Regions from separate parts of the Homo sapiens genome. Here all the other regions are linked to region 2. The links are contacts of gene promoters, found by promoter capture Hi-C in human tissues and cell types (Jung and others, 2019). All regions are on one chromosome and are shown on one strand. Each heading gives the region's core, a stretch centred on a gene start or on the middle of the fragment in contact. The rest is flanking DNA. Distances are from core to core; before and after follow the strand shown.

Region 1 (3,805 bases), core at 835-3,334, 1.2 Mb after region 2:
TATTATCTTTATTATTTTCAACGTCTTTGGTTCCATTGGCTCTACTTTTTATCATCTCTAGGTGGAAACTTGGTAAGTTTTTTCTTATTTTCTAATGTATTTTTATACATTTTTACGTGGTTAATTATGCAATACCTTTTCTAGTTACATATTCTTTATTCACCTGCATCCAATCTAGAGAGTCTCTTTCACTTGTTTATATTATTTAAAATGCTATATTTTTCATATTTAGGATTACATATTGATTAATTTCAAATGCATATAAACTTATTTAATTTCTACTTGTTTGCGTTCATATTTTCTGTATATAATCTGCTCCGTCTTTAAGAGGGAATTTGTTGCAGGATGTGCAATGAGCTGAACCTCTCTGCCTGCAGGTATCTTTAGGATTTGGTGTTCTTCCTGGAAAGCTCATAACCAATGAATAGGCAACATGGGGCATCTATTGTGTAACCATTTCTGATCATAACAGGACTCCTCTACAGGCAATTTTATGCTAGAATTTCCTATTAGGTTTGCTGAGACATAATACCAGCTATACCTCAGTTTAAGACACTTTCTATACAGTCCTTCTTCCTGCCCCCTCCTCTTTCATAGACCTGTATCTGAAGGTTTGCACTGATTACTATTGCTTACTCTCTCCTTTATCTTACACAAGAATTACCCCTCAATAAGTGACTTATGAAAACAATACCCAGCTTCTCAAAAACAAATGCCTTATTTGCATGCTCTGAGAGATGAAGACCATAAAATATTTCCTAATCAGCCACATGCCAAACACTAGCCTAATAACAAGATCCTATTGTACATGTATGACACCATTTGGTTATTTATGGAAGACTCTGGGAATTATGGAACATTTTACAATTTTTTAGCTTTTGCTATCATTGGATCTAGAAATTTTGATCCCCAAAGCATTTGAAAAGCTGCTAATGCTCTCCTCCGAATGGCCTCATTAGAAGTGGTGATTATTCAAGGATGTCAATGAGTAATCCATCTTCTCTAACTAACAGTTCCTGTTATCCCGGTTTCTGACAAGTGCCTCACAGGGGAGTTGCCAGTATTAACCAAGGAGGACTCAAACACCAAAACGTTTGAGAGGGATTGGTCAGAGACTTCAGCTGTGGCCTCTATCAAAATATCTCTAGATGTACCTATTAGAATGTTTCATTTTATCATTCATTTCAGTCACTTCAAAATGGATTTCATTCAATTTTTCTGCATCTTCCTCTTCATTTCTCTTCCTCATAGTCATTTAGCCCAGACCTGGAGAGCAAAAGTATCTGGACCTCACTCTTTCTGTTTACTTTTCTCTGGTGATTAAGAGGTGAAGTGGCTAATTCATACATCCCAGGAAATAAAACACCAGTGGCTATCAATACGCCCAAACAGATGTATACAGAACTACAGGCAAATCAGGGTATTTTCTTTGGAAAAAATCCAATTTCTACAGAAGTAGCCACTTCTTCTAGGACAGCACTGATTACAAAAAATGCTGCAAATTTCTCATGTGTGATCATGTACTGTGCAATCTAAGAAGCACCACTGGAAAATGTAGTTTCCATCAGGGCCCCATACACTGGAATTACTATACAAAGACAAACCAGGCTCTTGCCAAAAAGCACAAGATATAAAGATGAAGGCAGGCTGCCAATCTTGCTTGACACAATCATGGTTCCAGGATGTAAAATGTAGCAAAAAACATTACCAGTCCCCTGAAGGACATAAAGGTCCCCCAGAAGATGGAGTTCAACCCAGTAGCCTCACTTTATTTCACAATAGCGTGAATGGCTGCACATGAGAAAATGTAGGAGCTATATGTTACCTCAGCTCCAACATAAGAAATGAAGAACAGAAAAAGGAGACAAAAAATGGCATTGTGATATTTAGTTCTTTGAGATGTCTGAGCAGATGCTTTTGCTTTTCCTCACCTTGAGCTTATCTTTAAAAACAGAGCAAAAACAAAGATAGGACCTACAAAAATATAAGTACTGTTCAGAGCATAAGACCACAGTAAACACATAACTTCAGGTCCTCCAAACAGAGATTCTGAGTCAGCGTCAGTGCAGGATGGTGAAAGTCAGACTGCGTGGTTTTCACAGACACTCTCGTACCCAATGCCAGTTTAGCTAGCAGTGGAGCCAAAAAGGCACCCAAGGCAAAACAGAAGTGTAATATGCCTACATATGTGGAGATCCTATGTTCTTCAAACAGCCAAGATAGGGACATCACCACCTGTATCCAGAATGCAAATTGAAGTACCAAAGATAGACATCATGACAATCAGTAATAGAGCTGTCTTGAAAAAATAAACAAGATAAAGACAAACTGTGGTAGCCAACACTGACACTTTCAAAAGTAAAAAAAAAAAAAAAAAAAAAAAAAAATCATGATGTCAAAAAGAACTCCACCAATCACAGAGCCACTCAAAGGTAGGGCCCACAAAAATTAAAGGAAGATGACTAATATTTTGGTTCAAACTTGTGGCAAAATATTGAAATGTGGGTCCCAGTAAAGCAACACTCATTCCCAGCCCTGGGAAGGCAGCCAACAGGATGACGGTGGTGAACCAGCACAGCATGATCTGGGCCTGGCTGCTCCATCAGGAGACTACCACCACCATTGCTAGTATCACCACTGCCTCTAGGCCCTGCAGCTGGGGATCTGGCCCTGCAGAGCTCCAGTTCCAACTACTTGAAATCTTTTATTAATTTTTTAGCTTGCCCGATGACTTGCTTTTTCTAAGCAACTATTATTTTAGTGACTTGAGTTTGTTGGTTGGCATATCATTTTCTCATTTACTGTGATAGTTTCGTCTTAAAGCTTTTCTTCAGCATTATGATTTTTTCTCTCAAGAGAGAATAGCAGGGTTTTTATGGTTTCCACACAATTCCCAAGGGCTCCCATCAGAAAAGTGACTTATATGGTCATGATTACTCTTCCTGGGGGAATACTGAGTTTTTCAAATCATACTGCAGTTGGCTTACTCTAGCTTCTTGTTGAGAGGCTCTCTCTGTCTTCTCCTGGCAGTCCAGGCAGCAACTAAGCAACCATATTAACTGAAGCCCTCTAAATGCTCAAGCTTATTCTTTAAGTCTTTTCTCATAGGAGTGACAGCTCTGATTCAGTCAAAGGCTTCAAGCAATGAAAATAGCTCATGTTCAATATCTTCTCTAGGGTATTTACATGTCCTTCATTTTCCAATGATGAATTTACCACCTCTGGCTGTCGCCACCTTTTCTGAGTTTCTGTCCTGTTGAAATGTCCATCTTTGTTTGGATTTTTTTATTGTACACACTACTATATATATACACACACATACACATGCATATCACTTCTATGTTTGGAAAGGTGTGTGTATATTTACTTTCAGAGTAAACTCATTGTATTATCTCAAATGATAATTTTCACCCAAGGAATTTGAATCAAAAATTTTATACTTTAAGAGATAAGTTATTAGCCAAGTTTAATAAAAATATAAAGGCCTGTTTGAGCAGGTAAGAACTCAGGAAAATGATCTCCAGGTATATTTTGAAGAAAGGAAACACCAAGACACACAAAAAGTAATCTAGGAGAGGAAAGCATTAAAGAACAGCAATGGGAATGCAAAGAAAAGTAATCCCAGTATGAAATAATGGTGCTGTGAAACAACCTTTGAAAGCTAAATCAGAGGACTCTATGTAGAACTTATTCAAGAAGAAATGAAATCCATTAATAAATGGAATAATTATGAATCCAGAGCACTTAAAAATATAATAAGTACTTCCAAAATGGTGAAGTAAGGACCTCAGAAATCCCACTCCAA
Region 2 (3,791 bases), core at 1,011-3,510:
CACCATTAAGGTGAAATTGTCTATTACTAAAGGTTTCCCCCAAGCCGCATGCAAGCTTTTCTACTTGGAAGTGCTATCATCTGCAATAATTCTTTGTAATAGCTTATTGGTTTAGGGAGTTAAAATACCACACTGTGGGTGGGAGGTGGGGGCTGGTTTGAAGGAGGATGGATAGTGAGGGTGCTTTGTGGATCTCAAATGTAAGTCATCAGGCTTCTGGTGGCTTCTGGTGTTTAATTCCATCTTATAAAAGTGGCATGATGGAATATGACTAGGTAAAACTCTATTTTCTGGCATTGTGGTGGTATCTTTTTTTTTTTTTTTTTTTACTAGGGTCAACATGTTTATCTCTATGGGAAACACACACAAATACTAGGAAGATTTGCTTCGTATTGAGATTAACAGCATCAGCTTTGCAAAAGCAGCCTGACAAAAGGCTCCATACATCTAATACCAGAGACTAGAAACAGACCAAAAAAAAAAAAAAAAAAAAACACACACCACACAACTGGTAAACTTATCAACCTAGGTCTATCCAACTTTCGCTTTCATACACGCGCTCTAAAACAACTTATAATAAAAATGGAAGGGAAGACAGATCCAATTTGAAATCCTCCTTGAGAAAAAACAAATCAAAACTAGTTCCTGGGGAAGAAAGCCTCAGCTAGGTCAGGAGGAAACTTACGCATCTTTGATTCCCTTTCCGCTTTGGAGAGGCATTACCCGTTCAAGCCCAGCCAATGCGGCCGGCCAGGATTTACAGCTCTTATCAAGGGTTAGATTTTGCGAAAGATATAAAGAAAGGAGTTTCCTAACACACCGGGTCTTCTCACAGCAACAAGACACCGAAATTAAGCCTTCTATGGTTTGTGTCTGTAGGACTTTTTAGATAAAACTGGCAGCCCCATTAGATAAGAAATGGCTTTTTAGAAGCTTTGGGGGAAGCGCGGGGGTTCTTCGTGGCCTTCCTGTGACTGTCTTTGGGAGACCGTAACAGATGATGGGAACATGTAAGAATGATTGAAGAAGGTTACCGGCGAGTTGCACCTAACAGTCTTCTCTCTCCAAGTAGTTTCTCGAGAGAAAATTATATATTAACGCCTGGGGACGTGAAATAGGTCTTTCACTGTTCTGTAATAAATCCCTCCCTACTCGCGCCCTTAGACTAATGCATTTTTAAAAAATCTCCACAAAGTCATGGAGACTTGTCCTTATAATTACCAAAATACCACAGCTAGTTGCACAAGTTTGCTTAAAAACAAAGGGCAGGAGACCAGCAGTGAGAAGAATTGAACAGTATATAAAAATCTTACAAACTTTAGACTACTGAAAGATCATTTCGCTCTTTGGCTTCGGGTTAGTGAGCTTCAATTCTAGAGTTAAACTGAGAAGCAGACCTCGCGGGTCTGAAAGACAAAAAGTCAGTCCGCGGAGTCAACTTCGGTTTACCGGTGCGTTCCAACCTGATTGTCCCAACAGCAAGAAGCGCCCCTTTCCTCCCACCCAACGTTTTTAGATATCTGAGGTTGGGGGAGACGGAGTAATGGTGTAGCAGTCAGGAAACAGTTCCTCTGGGTTTAATCATCCCATTCCCGATTCTTCTTCCCCTAGCGCGCCGAGCGCAGCCAGTTCTGGAGGAACTAGCCCTCCGGAGCAGCCAAGGCAGGCCAGGCCCCGGGGATGTGCACCACGGCGTGGGGACCAAACCAAGCTGAACGGCCTGCTCCAAGTTCCCCCCTTTTCCTAGAGCCCGGGAGGGACCTCGTCAACAGGTAGACCTACCCACCAGCCACTCGCCACCGGCGGCAGAAAGTGAGCCCCGCGCGCAACGCGGCCAGCCGGACTGCGGGGACCCCAGGAGCGCAGGGCGGAGGAGCAGCGCCACAGGAGGCGAGGGCGCAGGCGGCGCGGCCGGGAAGGAACGCGGGAGGGGACAGAAGGAAGAGGAAGAGGAGGAGAGGGAGGCCAGAGCCAGAACAGCCCGGCAGCCCGAGCTTCGGGGGAGAACGGCCTGAGCCCCGAGCAAGTTGCCTCGGGAGCCCTAATCCTCTCCCGCTGGCTCGCCGAGCGGTCAGTGGCGCTCAGCGGCGGCGAGGCTGAAATATGATAATCAGAACAGCTGCGCCGCGCGCCCTGCAGCCAATGGGCGCGGCGCTCGCCTGACGTCCCCGCGCGCTGCGTCAGACCAATGGCGATGGAGCTGAGTTGGAGCAGAGAAGTTTGAGTAAGAGATAAGGAAGAGAGGTGCCCGAGCCGCGCCGAGTCTGCCGCCGCCGCAGCGCCTCCGCTCCGCCAACTCCGCCGGCTTAAATTGGACTCCTAGATCCGCGAGGGCGCGGCGCAGCCGAGCAGCGGCTCTTTCAGCATTGGCAACCCCAGGGGCCAATATTTCCCACTTAGCCACAGCTCCAGCATCCTCTCTGTGGGCTGTTCACCAACTGTACAACCACCATTTCACTGTGGACATTACTCCCTCTTACAGATATGGGAGACATGGGAGATCCACCAAAAAGTAAGAGGCTATTTTACCTTGTGGGGCTCGGTGTGCTGTTCTTGTGCGGGGTTCTCTCTCAGGCACAGGCTGAGGTGCCAAGGGCTCTTTGGAGTTGGAGTCATTGCCTGGAGAAAGAGAAAAGGTGGCTTTTTCTTGTTGCCGCCACGCCTGCATGCTTACTGTCGGTTCTTATCTTCGGGAAACTGATTGTACCTTGTGTGTGAATTCGCCTGTGTGCCCTCCAAAGCTCTAGCTTTCTGGTGCTAAGCGGTGATTTCCTCCTGGGGAATCCTGAGCTCTCCGAGAAGGTTATTATGTTGCAAAGGTCTGCCTGCACAGTCAATGCCCAGAGATGTGAATTAGCATTAGACTTGCAAAAGAGAACGAGTGACAACTGTATTTATGCCTGCTCTTGCTAACAATATCCAGTCCTGTGTGCTATTTAAGAGCGCGCTTCACGGAAAATATAGACATCCCTGCGTTCACTTAACGCTTCTAGTCAAAACCTTTTCTTTGACTTGACTTATCCATAATCTTTCCCAATGATTATAGCAAAGAGGAAGGGGGGGGGGAGAAATACAAAATGAGCGGGTTTGATTGCGTGCTAGGCGTACAAATGTAGACTATTCCAATCTGCATTTTACATATATTCCACCTCCTTTTAAAAATGAGTCAAGGTTTTGATGGCACATTTCAATTACCATCCCAAAGTGCAATGCTCTAAAAAAAAAAAAAAAGAAAGAAAGAAAGAAAGAAAAAAACCTCCCAGAGTACGCCCTATAAGAGAACGACACTAAAAGTGTGTTTATCTCTGTAGGAAGTAAACGGTTAGTCAATCATGTATTTATTTTCATTTCAGAAAAACGTCTGATTTCCCTATGTGTTGGTTGCGGCAATCAGATTCACGATCAGTATATTCTGAGGGTTTCTCCGGATTTGGAATGGCATGCGGCATGTTTGAAATGTGCGGAGTGTAATCAGTATTTGGACGAGAGCTGTACATGCTTTGTTAGGGATGGGAAAACCTACTGTAAAAGAGATTATATCAGGTATGGCATTTACACTTCTTTCTTAATTTTGTGGGATTTCCCTGAATCTCCCCACTCTTTATGTATTATTTGGTGTGGCTTTGTCTTTTTGTGAAGTTTGCCTCAGTGTAGTCATACAAGCCAAAGTTACCCTGTACATGTGTTAAAAAAATCAAGCTATGCTGTTCATTTCATTCTTTAGTTGAGAAAAACAAAAACCCTTAACAGTGGTATTCATAATTCCGGGGTATTGAGGCTTGTTTAATTAC
Region 3 (3,743 bases), core at 555-3,054, 1.4 Mb after region 2:
AATTTGTAAGTCCTAGAGGAAATAAAAATATTAAAATTGAAATTATATATTAGCCCCCAGAAGAAAGGTAAATTTCCCAGTAATTGTAAACTTGAACATATTATATGTTAACCCTACTTTATTTCAATATTTTACAATTTCTTTTTGTTTTTTCTAATGAAATATATTGCAATTTGCTAAAATGCCATATATGTATTTGCATATGTATGTATATGCTGTACATATATATGTACACATACATACATACACATGATTGTGTATATATAGACACACTATTATATGTTTTTGAAAACTAAGCAATTTGGAGAAATATCATTGGGAAAGTACTTACTATGATTTTTAAATGTCTACGAATTAATCAATATCTATTGGTTACTGTTCAAAGCACAGAGAGTCATACTGAGAGGCATAAGACATAACTGATACTACCAACAGGGAAACGAGATATACACAGGAAATGAATTCCTTGGCAGGGTATGAGAGCATTGAACACAAACAAAGGAACTTAAGTAAAGTCCAATGGGATTGAACTGTGACCCAACATAATACAATTTTTCTAGAGACTCATTTGTGTAAATTTGAAGACAGAACTGAGAAATGACATTATAAAAACTAAAAACGGGAGAACGAGATTTTTAATGTATTTACTAAATAGTGAATCAGTTCAGATACATAATAGAAAAGGAATTTCTTGATTAATGGGTCAACATACTGAGATCTGATGGCCTTCAACCTCCTTGGGTCTGCCCACCCCATTTTTGACGCTCCTTAAACTTCTTCAACTTTTGTCTTCTCCAGCTTTTAGTTGCTGTGATCCTCTATCTGGCAATGTATCCAGTGAACCCTGTGGGCTTCTTCCTTCCTGTCCCTCGTGTTACCTGTTCTGTGCTACCTGTGTTGCGTTCTGCTCAACGAACCCTCCTTTGGGTGGCACTCTTGTCCTGCCTAGCCCTAGTTCTGCTAGAGATGCTCAATTAGTTGTTGAGTTGAAGAATTGAATTGAACTGTTTCCCTCAGATTCCTCTAAACACAAATCCACTTATTCTTTCTGTCTTTGAAATTCTCAAAACCGCTAAGACACAGCTATTTTGAAAATAGCCAGCATTGGTTGAAGCTAGGGTGAATATGGCTTTTGACTCAGAGAGGTTGTTCAACTCACCAGGAAAGGGAAGCATTGCAAGTTCCTAAGCACTTCTGGACTCTTAATGCATTTTCACTCGTGAAAGTTTCAAGCAAGAAAAAAATAAAGTAGTGCCCCGAGTTCTTTATTAGATTCAATTACCAGCGTACAAACATCCTAATTCACTTAAACAAAATAGCCCACACACATTCCATTTCCAAGGAGGCTGCTTTTCTTCCTCTCTTCCCTTCTCGCTCTCCCTCTTACTGTTTTTCCTCCGTCTTGCTTCTCCTTTTCTCCCCTTATCCTAGTTATCTCAAAGAAAAGCTTATCTGCAACCACCCTTTAACCACGAATTACCATAAACGAAGCAACCCCCCCACCCCCCCATAAGCGAAAGCAAAGCCCTCAGTGGAGCCTGTCGGGGTGGTGGGGACGCCCCCTTTCGTGCAAAACGACTTCACGGTGAATTTCAAGTGTCCGCAGGGGATGGAAGGGGGGATTCCAGATCCTCGCATTTTCACAGACGGCCTAATCCCTCTGCGCAATGGACCCGGGAAAGCTGCCTCCCGTTAAGGGCGCCCAGGCACTGTCAAAGCGCCCTCCCTGCCCGGGCCGGGAGAAGTAAGGGGTGTGAAGGCGGAGCCACTGGGCTGGCAACACCCTCCCGAAGGTCCAGCCCTTACCCGCCTTCCTACCACCTTAGGGGATTTGGCCCGGAGAACGAGATCACCCTCTCAATGAAAGGCAGATGTCCCTTTAAGGTTTGCTTCTACAGCCCGTGGACTTTAGCCTAAACACGGACCCGCGAAGCTGGCTTTATTTGTCCATGTCTCGGACAGAGCCTGGGAAGCTGCCAGTGAGATTTCAGAGACCAAGAGCGCGAAGGGGCGGGCGATGTGGCAATCCGTCTGGGATGTGAAAAGCGTGGAGCGCATTTAGAGGAATTCGACGAAAACACAGGAAATCACTCCTCTCCCGCTCCTGGGCGCCGCTGCCACTGGGGCAGAGGACTGGGAACCGCGGCAGCGGGATAAGTGGCCCAGCCAGAGAGCGCAGCTCCCGCGCCCGGTCCTGCCCTGCGAACCAGCGCGGCCCCCTGGCGCTGAGGCTGCTCCGGCCATGGCCCCTCGGCCCCGCGCCCGCCCAGGGGTCGCTGTCGCCTGCTGCTGGCTCCTCACTGGTGAGCGACTCGCTTTTCTCTGAGCATCTCCTGCTCGCGGGCTTGGGGCTTGGAGCGGGGAGGGAGGTCCTCAGAGCCATGGGCCAGATAGGAAGAGAGAGCGCCCATCCACTTTCGGGCATTCCAGGTACTCAGGCCAGGCTACGGGGCAGGCAGGAGTTTCGCGTTCTGGTTTTGATATGAATTAGTTTTCGTGTCTCTCCAAAGTCCTTCACCCTAGGAGTAGGAGTGAGGCAGCACTGAAAACCTTAGAAGGTAGAATTCACTTTTAAAATTAAAGTTGTTTTTACAATACACATTGTATATTAGGACTTTGCTGAATATTTCCTCCCCTCCACCCTTTTTTATGGCATGGGATGGGAGGGTGATGCTTATAGGGCGCCTGATACATATGCAAAATTCCTACCCTCGGGTTGTTCCAGAGTGGACATTATTGAATTTTCTTGCTGTCTACTATTTAGGCTTTTTTCCCATGCAGAACAAGAAAAGGCAGGGATGCAAGACGAAACTGCCACTTGTTCCAAAATGATGTTTCTATGTCAGCACCCAAGAGGAGGGATATTTTGAAACGTAGAAAGGAATGGTGAACATTTTCTCTGTAAATATCACAGGGCAGTCTACTTTTAAGATGCAAAATATAGTATTGTTATTTGTACATAAATGTGTATTTTTAAGGAGGGGACTTAAAAACATAGTGGAAATGCAAAGTTGTATCCAATTTAGAAAAAGCTTGAAATATAGCATTTTGTAAGATTTTCCCAATAATGAACTCATGGTCAGATCTTTTTTACCAGTTACTGATTGGGGTGGGGGAAAGTTGAAATGGTGAAAAATGGAAGAAGGTGGGGGGAAAGTGTATCGATAGAATCTCTGTGTGAAAGAAAATCACCTTATTAATGGGTTAATTAACAGCTGGCTTTAACATATCATTGATATTCAATTGTTCAGTGTTTTTACTGCTGGCATGGTTATTAGTACTAGTTAATTTAGCATTTTTACCACTAAAAACAGGGTAGAGCCAGCTAGTTTAGACCTGCCTTAGATGGCCAAGCATTGTTAAGTTTTATGAAGATGATTTAGAAGTTGATTATCAGCAAGCAGAGCTTTTTTCAGAAGGGAGGTAATGTAAAGAGAGTTAATAATTAGCTACTGGCTTTTCATCCAAACATTTCCCACTACTCAGGAAATGTCCAATAATCCAAACAGTGGTAACTGCTGAACAGCATTATAGCCGGTGAGTGGTTTAACTTACCAGCTACTGCCACTACTTTTTACACATATTTGACCTATGATTCTTCTCCAACTCAAATTTTTTTAGATTGTATTTTGTTGTTTTTGTGCAAAATCTGAATACAGTAGTTTACTATCCAAGTTGTACTTTTTCATTCTACCAAATAAGCAGTCTCTAGAGTAGAAATGATGAAATGAGGTTTGCGTATC

Evidence for each region. Contacts are between HindIII fragments. The study calls those that stand out against the background at their distance.
Region 1: a contact is called between a fragment that was not itself captured here and the fragment with the promoter of ISL1 in region 2, in 1 of the 25 tissues and cell types used here (H1 embryonic stem cells).
Region 3: a contact is called between the fragment with the promoter of ITGA1 here and the fragment with the promoter of ISL1 in region 2, in 1 of the 25 tissues and cell types used here (pancreas).

Annotation. Positions count from the first base shown.
Region 1 is chr5:52,578,550-52,582,354 of GRCh38, forward strand. It overlaps the pseudogene SLC60A2P1. Among named protein-coding and RNA genes, the nearest start is that of ITGA1, 210 kb to the right of the region's middle. The HindIII fragment of the contact is 3,028 bases long and covers 571-3,598 here.
Region 2 is chr5:51,381,188-51,384,978 of GRCh38, forward strand. ISL1 (ISL LIM homeobox 1) reads left to right here and starts at 2,261. Exons shown (of 6, transcript NM_002202.3): 1 at 2,261-2,512; 2 at 3,354-3,543. The coding sequence starts at 2,485. ISL1-DT (ISL1 divergent transcript) reads right to left here and starts at 2,145. Exons shown (of 2, transcript NR_046243.1): 1 at 1,787-2,145. The HindIII fragment of the contact is 8,696 bases long and covers 495-3,791 here.
Region 3 is chr5:52,786,112-52,789,854 of GRCh38, forward strand. It overlaps ITGA1 (integrin subunit alpha 1), which reads left to right and starts at 1,805. Exons shown (of 29, transcript NM_181501.2): 1 at 1,805-2,303. The coding sequence starts at 2,243. PELO (pelota mRNA surveillance and ribosome rescue factor) reads left to right here and starts at 1,805. Exons shown (of 3, transcript NM_015946.5): 1 at 1,805-2,303. The region is part of intron 1 of PELO-AS1 (PELO antisense RNA 1); the gene reads right to left. RefSeq lists an enhancer at 1,493-1,772. The HindIII fragment of the contact is 9,565 bases long and covers 1-3,743 here.